Regions from separate parts of the Homo sapiens genome. Here region 1 is linked to region 2. The links are contacts of gene promoters, found by promoter capture Hi-C in human tissues and cell types (Jung and others, 2019). All regions are on one chromosome and are shown on one strand. Each heading gives the region's core, a stretch centred on a gene start or on the middle of the fragment in contact. The rest is flanking DNA. Distances are from core to core; before and after follow the strand shown. Region 1 has its middle 17 kb from the start of LINC01638. Region 2 holds the start of MN1 (MN1 proto-oncogene, transcriptional regulator).

What was found. Contacts are between HindIII fragments. The study calls those that stand out against the background at their distance.
Region 1: a fragment that was not itself captured here is called in contact with the fragment with the promoter of MN1 in region 2 in 2 of the 25 tissues and cell types used here (dorsolateral prefrontal cortex and mesendoderm cells).

What each region holds. Positions count from the first base shown.
Region 1 is chr22:27,239,698-27,243,360 of GRCh38, forward strand. No RefSeq gene overlaps it. Among named protein-coding and RNA genes, the nearest start is that of LINC01638, 17 kb to the left of the region's middle. The HindIII fragment of the contact is 9,759 bases long and covers 1-3,663 here.
Region 2 is chr22:27,799,459-27,803,017 of GRCh38, forward strand. It overlaps MN1 (MN1 proto-oncogene, transcriptional regulator), which reads right to left and starts at 2,298. Exons shown (of 2, transcript NM_002430.3): 1 at 1-2,298. The coding sequence starts at 1,085. RefSeq lists an enhancer at 1-364. The HindIII fragment of the contact is 23,630 bases long and covers 1-3,559 here.

The DNA.
Region 1 (3,663 bases), core at 914-3,413, 560 kb before region 2:
ATGCTGCTCTCTACGCTGCACAAAGTCTTTCTCAAACCCTTATCTGACTATATCCCTTCTGTGCCTACAGCCTTCCACGGCTCCCTGCTGCCCTCAAGTTAAGTCCAAACCCTTTTCTCCTTTTGGCTGGAAGATCTGGCCCCTGTTGACCTCCATGCCTCCTTCCTCTATGACCTTCCAACCCCCACTCCTTTCAGGACCCCCTCCCCCATGATCTTCAGTACTATAAAACCTCATTCTGGTCCTCCAACACTCCTGTGGTCTGTCCACCACTAGTCTTTTGCATGTGCTGATCCTACCACCTCCAATCCTGTTTCCTCTCACCTTCTTCTGATTAAGTCCCACCTATCCTCCGAGAAGTCTACGAGGCCCACATCCCACCCTCTGCTGGCTCTGGGGCCTCCTGGGGGCTTCCCTCAGCAGCCCTGATCACTCTGCGTCGAACTGTCAGTTTCCTCATCCATCTCCCCACTAGGCTGGGGGGAGGGGCATGGGACAGCGATGGTGCCTGCCTGCTTCTTCACTATTTCACCCTCAGTGCCTAGCATAGGGCCTGGCACACAGCGGGTGTCCAATAAATACCCTGTGGTTGGCAATGGGTAGCACAGACCTCATCTGTGGTGACAACTCCAGTTTGTAGCGCACCCCTGCCCCAGCGATAGAAGCAGCAGTAGCCATAGTAATCATCACTTATAGTGAGCTCTGGGGTGTGCTGGCATTTTTCTAAGCACTTTAAATAGTCACTACTTTCATTTCCACCCTATGAGGCAAGTACTATTATTAGTCCCAGTTTACAGATGAGGAAAGTAAAGCCCAGAGAGGTTAAGCGACTTGTCTAAGGTCACACAGCTGTCAAAATGCAGATACAGGCAGGCAGATTCCAGAGCCCCTGCTATCACCACTCACAACAAGACCAAGGAGCTGGGACAAGCTCTTGGTAATGAAAAAACATGACACTGAGGCTAGACTGCAATGAACAAGCTAAGTATCAGGAAGCAGGCAGGGAATCTAACTCTGTGCCCAGCTTGGGTGGCTGCCAGAACATTAGGCTGGAGTGTGATTACTGATCACCAGCCACTGCCCCAGGCTGTGAGATCCCCCAGGGTCTACCTGCCCTGTGAGTGCTTAGCTTATGGCCTGGGCACACTGGAGGAAGCTTGACTCCATCCTCAGTGGGAAAGCCGCATGGATAACAGGTAAAAGGTTGGACTCTGGTTCAAACTCCAGCTTTGCCACCAACTGGCTATCTTTATCCGTTTTGTGCTGCTACAATGAAATACCCAAGACTGGGTAATTTATTAAGAAAAGAAATATATTTCTCACACTTCTGGAGTCTGGGAAGTCCAGTAGCAAGGTGCCAGTATCTGGTGAGGGCCTTCATGCTGCATCATCCCACGGCAGAAGGTGGACGGGTAAGAAAAGGTGAGACAGAAAAAGGGTTGAACTCATACTTTTTAAATCAAGTGCCCACACCCATGATAATTCCCATCACTCCTGTGATGTGATAACAACATTAATTCGTTCATGAGGATTGAGTCCTCATGGCCTAGTCACCTCTTAATTGTCCCACCTCTTACCACTGTCACAATGGCAACTAAATTTCAACTTGAGTTTTGGAGAGGACATTCAAACCATAGCACTGGCTGCGTGACCTTGAGCAAGTTACTTAACCTCTCTGAGCCCTCAGAGTCTTCCATTGTCAATGGGGATACTAAAAGTGTCCTAGTAGGGCTTGGGGGAGGATTAAATGGGTTAATCCTTATGTTAATCCAGAGTTCACCTTTTTGTGAGTGCTAGGAATGGCTAAGTTGCCTAATTTTTGTCCTCTGCCCTAACAAGGGCTGGTCATATCACATATTCTAATTACTCTCTGGGCAAACGGACTCCTATTGCTCCTAGGAAGACAAACACATGGGCACATGGGTCTGCTGTCCCGTCTCGCTGTTTGGCCTTTTCCCAGTAGCTTGCCCTCTCTGGGTCACAGTTACCCTGACTCTACAAGAGAAGGGAGCCAATGCTCTCTGAGGGTCCTCCTAGCTCTGACCTGAACCCCTGACTGTCCCATCAGGACCACATGGTCTCTAAGGCAGTGAGGAGATGGTCTCTGTGGAGATGGCTCAGATCTGGGCCCTGAGCAGGAAGAGGGAGGCACCAGGAGCAGGGATTGGCAAGGGTCTCTTGTCTGTCAAGGTCTTGGGCGCTTTTGGTTTCAGCCGGCACCGAGCCAAGGCCAGGGGCAGACAGCCCAGGGCTCCAGCTGCCTCCTGCCTGCTGCCCTGTGTTTGGCTTTATGAGGCCTGTCCAGCTCCCTCTGGGGCTCATTAGCTGGGCAGCCAGCTGGGGCCCAGGCAGCTCTGTTCCCACCAGGTCCTGTGGGAAAGTGCCACTCAGCACCTTCTCCACCCCAGGAGGGACAGTGCCATTAAACCTGTCCTTCCCCAAGGGTAGGGGGTCAGGCAGGCCTGGGAGGGGCCCTGGGAAAGGCTGCATGTCCCCAGCCTGTTTCTTATTCCTCTAACCTTTCTCCTGTCAGCTCTGCTTTTCTGGCAGCCTGAGACCGGGCATGGGGCCACACAGACCGGGGCTCATTCCTGGCTCTGCCACTGGCAAGCTGCAGCTCCCTAAACAAGTGCCGGCCCCTCTCTGAGCCCTAGGTCCCTCATCTGTAAAATGGGACCTATCCTGAAGGTTTGCCTGGAGGGTTGAAAAGAGATGACAGTGAAGGCGCATAGGTTTACATGGGGACTGGCATATTGAGTATGCTGGAAAGAAGGCCCTTCTTCCTCCTCTGCTTCTTTTTGGCTTCTCTCTTGGTTCTTGCCTCATTATTCCAGGTCCTTACAACTACTGATCTTCCTTCCCTGGGAGCAGAGGGGTCAGCGTCTGCTTGCTTTGCCCTAGAAAAGTTCTCCTTCACCTTCCTCTGAATTTTTACTTCCCTTCTTATTTCTCTGTCTGTCTGTCTGTCTCTCCCTATCTCTCTCTCTCTCTCTCTCATTGTTTGTCAATCTCTTAACAATCTATCCAACATTGGTTTCATCCTCCTTTTCTTGGTATATTGGTGAATTCATAGCTTCTAGTTACTTAGGGAATTATTCCTTCTGTTACAGCACCCCCCGCGCACGCGCGCACACACACACACACACAGAGACAGACACAATAATGTCTATCACCATGGGGCAGTTGGCCACTTACTTCCCGGGACCAACAGCCGGTCATCTGGGTGGGAGAAGGGACAGGGACTGTGCTTCTCACAAAAGCAAGACTTATGCTGTGCTCCCAGGGCTCCATGAACACTGCGTGTGAAGCTGATGTCATCAGCCATCAGACTCTGCCCGCTCCCCAAGGGTAGAAGTCACAGTGTGATTCCTGGGAGGGCATTGCTTCTTATCTATTACTTCATTCATATATAAATAAGACATGTTTGCACTTCCAAGGTGCACCCCCGCCCCGAGGAAGAGGGATGCTGACGTGTAGTAGACGCCTTCCACTCCCTTGCAGAGTGGCTGGGGAGGACAAGACACAGGCACGCAGAGACGGAGCAGCTTTAGAGCTGGAAAGGAGGGAGGGGATCAGCAAAGGCTTCTGGGACAGGGGGTGCAAGCTGGGACATGAAGCCACCCCAAAGGAAAGAGGGGGGCAAACGTGGCAGCACAGGTAATG
Region 2 (3,559 bases), core at 1,048-3,547:
GGCGGCTGCTGCTGTGGCGGCTGCTGCGGGGGCTGCTGCTGAGGGGGTGGCGGGGCCTGCTGGGGAGGCTGCATTAACGGGTGCCTGGAGCCCACTGAGGGCTCCAGACCCACAGGCATCTTTCTGGCCCCACTGAACCTCTCAAAGAACACACCATGCTGCTGCTGCTGCTGCTGGGGCTGCTGCTGCTGCTGGGGCTGCTGCTGCGGTGGCTGGGCGTGCATTTTGGACAAGCCCACCATGCCCGCAGCTCTGGGCATGGCCGAGGCGCCCGGGAAAGCGCCCCCAGGAACCTGGCGACCCGCTGCATAATGAGGCAGCTGCCCTTCGGAGTCAGAGGGCGAAAACATGTCAAAATGTCCCGAGGGCGCCTCGCCCGGGTAATTGTATTCCAGCGAGTCGACGGCTCCTTGGTTCGTCACCCTCCGTGGCTCCAGACTGTGGGAATCGGAGCCGCTGGAGGACGGCAGGCCGTGGAAGGAGGCGGCTCGGTTAGGGCTCTGGTCCAGCGGCAGGCATGGGGCCGGCACGGCGTGGCTGGAGGCACCTGAACTGTGGAAGTCCGGGAGGTTCCCCGGTCGCTGCGGGCCGAAGCTCTCAGGCCCCTGGCTCTCCGCCATGTGCTCATAGCCCTCGGCGAAGGGCGGCTGGCTGCCCAGGCCTCCGGCTGCGCCGCCGTAGCCGAGCAGGCGACCCCCGTGCAGGCACGAGGCCCCGGGGTCCGGGCCACCGAAGTTGCCCCCAAAGTGGGGGTGATGCTGGTGGGGATGATGACTTCCCGGGTGGCCGTGGTGAGGCTGCTGGCCGCCAAAGAAGCCGTGCACAGGCTGCGCTTGCAGCCCCCCTGCGTGCAACTCCGAGTGGCCGCGCGCGTGGAAGCCGTAGGGCTCCATGTTCATGCCCAAGATCGGGGGTTCGCCCAGCGCGCTCATAGCAGGATCCACAGGGCCAGGGGGCCCCCCAGTGTGGAAAGCCGGGGCCTTAAAGTGGGTGTTCATGCTCAGTCCGGTCTCGTTAAAGTTCCTCTCGCCCTGGCCAGCGTTCCTGCTGTTGACCTGGGGCTCGAATTGGTCCAGCCCAAACATACTTGGCGGGGGGCAGAGGGGGATCAATAGGGCATGACAGCCGGCTCTCCGCGGCGCGCCTCCGGCCAGCTACTCGTTCCAGCCCAGGATTGGGCGCTCCGGGACGCTCAGCACCGCGGGGGCTCAGCGCGCACCTCCACCCCGCCTGATGTGAGGGACGGGGGGCGGGGTATTAGCTCCTCTCCTGAAGCTCCGATTCTGCCCGGGGAGGGCCTCTCACATCTTGCGAGGCCGCGGGGCCTCTAGGAGCCGTGTTGGGGGGCCCATGCCCCGGGCGGTTGTCACAGCCGCGGGTGGGTCTGCGGGGAGGGGACGAAGCCGCGGATGAACGGAGACAAAAAGTTAAGTGGGGGGAATGGGGAGGGAAGGGGGTTGGGAGAGCAGAGCGATCACCTTCTCAAGTCCGATTGGGTCTGCTGGGGAGCCCTCAGGACGCCGCCCGCAGCCTCCCGGAGTCCGTGGCAGAGCTGCTAAGGGCAGGGGAGGGAGACCCTTCAAAGCCGCGGCTGGCGCCGGGCACCGACAGAGCGGTCCCTCCCCCCGCCCCCCGGAGTCCCCGCGCCCCGCAGCCCGAGCCTCCACCGAGCACGATCCGCTCGCACAATCCCCGTAGGCTCCGGGCGAGCGGCTGCTGCTTCTTCAGCGGGTCGGAGGACTGGAGGCTCCGCTCGGCATCGCCGGTGCCGGCCCCCGAGCCGAGGACGCAGAGGGGCTGCGAGGCGGCAGGCGCCGGGGGCTGGAGCCGAGGGTCGGGGAAAGGCGCGGCTCCTCTGCTCGGCAGCGGGTGCGCTGCGTTCGGCGCGCAGCTTCGCGGCCACGTCCGCCGCCTGCCGCTTCTGTTCTCCGCCGTTGGGTGTCTGAGTTCGCCGGAGTCTCCGCGCACCGTTGCAGGCGCGGGAGGGCAGCGAGACGAGGGGTTGGGTCGCTCCAAGGCTCCGGTTCCCTGCCTCCGCGCTGAGGTGCTTCGCGAGTCCCTCTCGGACCTGAGGGAGGGGGGCGTACGCGGGTCGGGGGGCCACGCCGGGCGAGCAGGCTAAGGCGTTCCCGCTGCGCTCTCAGAGCCCGGAATGGGGGGAGGGGGGCGCGGGGGCAGCTCTGGGGGGTCTGCGCACCCCTCTCCCGACTAGCGGGGGGGCTCTGCGTGGGGCGTTCCGAGGGTCTCGGCTCCCCTCTCTGTGTCTGCCTCTCGCCCAGCGCCGGGAGAAGCAGCAACAAGTTTTGCATTTCAGCAATCAATTTCAGCCATTACATTTGCACCAATCAGCGCCGCCCAAGTTCCGGGCTCGGGGCGGGGCTCGCTCTTAAGGTGGTCCGGGGTCCTGGCTGCCGAAGCCCCCGCCACGAACCCGCACTACCCCAGCTCTGGGGTCCCCTGCGCCCGCCTCTCCTCGGGGTCCGGCGTCAGTGCGCTGGGGGCGCGCCCCGGCCTCCGGGCGCATCGAGCTGGAGAGGGTGCAGGCGGAGGAGAATGGCGGGAGCTTGGCTTTGTTCACCCCCTTCCCATTCACACTGTTCCCAACTCCCCACCCCCAACTGGAGCGAGACCCACCGGGTGGGCAGGGGGCGGGGAGGTGGGCGGTGAGCGGTACGGGGCGCTCAGACAATGAGGTCGCCAGGCAAAGACCCTAGACTCGCCACGGAAAGTCGCTAAGTGTCTACTGCACTTCGGCTCCGGGGTGAACACTCCGTTCTCCGCTAGCGGCGCCCAAGTTAGCCGGCCCTGGGATTTTCTTGGAGGGTAAAGCAGACGGGGAACCTCGAAGTTAGGGTTCTCCTCGAGAGACCTGGGCGCTTGCTCACTCCTCCGTCACTAGGGCGTTCACAATTGTTCCCCTTCCCCACTGCCTGGGGTTCCCGGTTCTCACCGGCCGGCGTGGGCTCCAAGGAGTCACAGTCACTCAGCCACTTTATGGGGGAGCACATCGGTTGAGCCCAGTAACCGGAGCGACTTGCGAGGCGGCTGGGAACCCCGAGAAGACACGCACGAAGAGGGCGCACCCGCCGGGCCGCACACCTTGCCCTGGGCCACCCGGTCCAAGACCCAGACCCTCTGCGGGTGCGAAGTTGGCCTCCTTAAGAGATCAATTAAACTGAAGAGGCCGAGGAATGGAATTGGGCTGTGATACTAAAATCAATAGGAGTAATTTAATATCTGCCCTGCTCTTTATGAAATATTTATCCCAATAATCTTAGTTAAAATGTTTAGATCGTCCTGATCCCCACAGAGGCTGAAATCTATCTTGCAATTAGAAGTTGGAAGTTAGAGGTGATGGAGGATAGAGGTGTTTATTCTGTGCGCCTGTGTGCGTGTGCTCGCGCCTGCGTGCGTGTGTTTGTGCATGCGTGTGTGTGTGTGTGTGTGTTCCTCCCTAAAGTGTGTGTAGGGAAGGAGGGGGGAGAAGGCCTTTAATTTTCCTTGCCATAAAATAGCACGAGGCGATTTTGCTAGCAGATTCGCATTCTTAGGAGAAGGG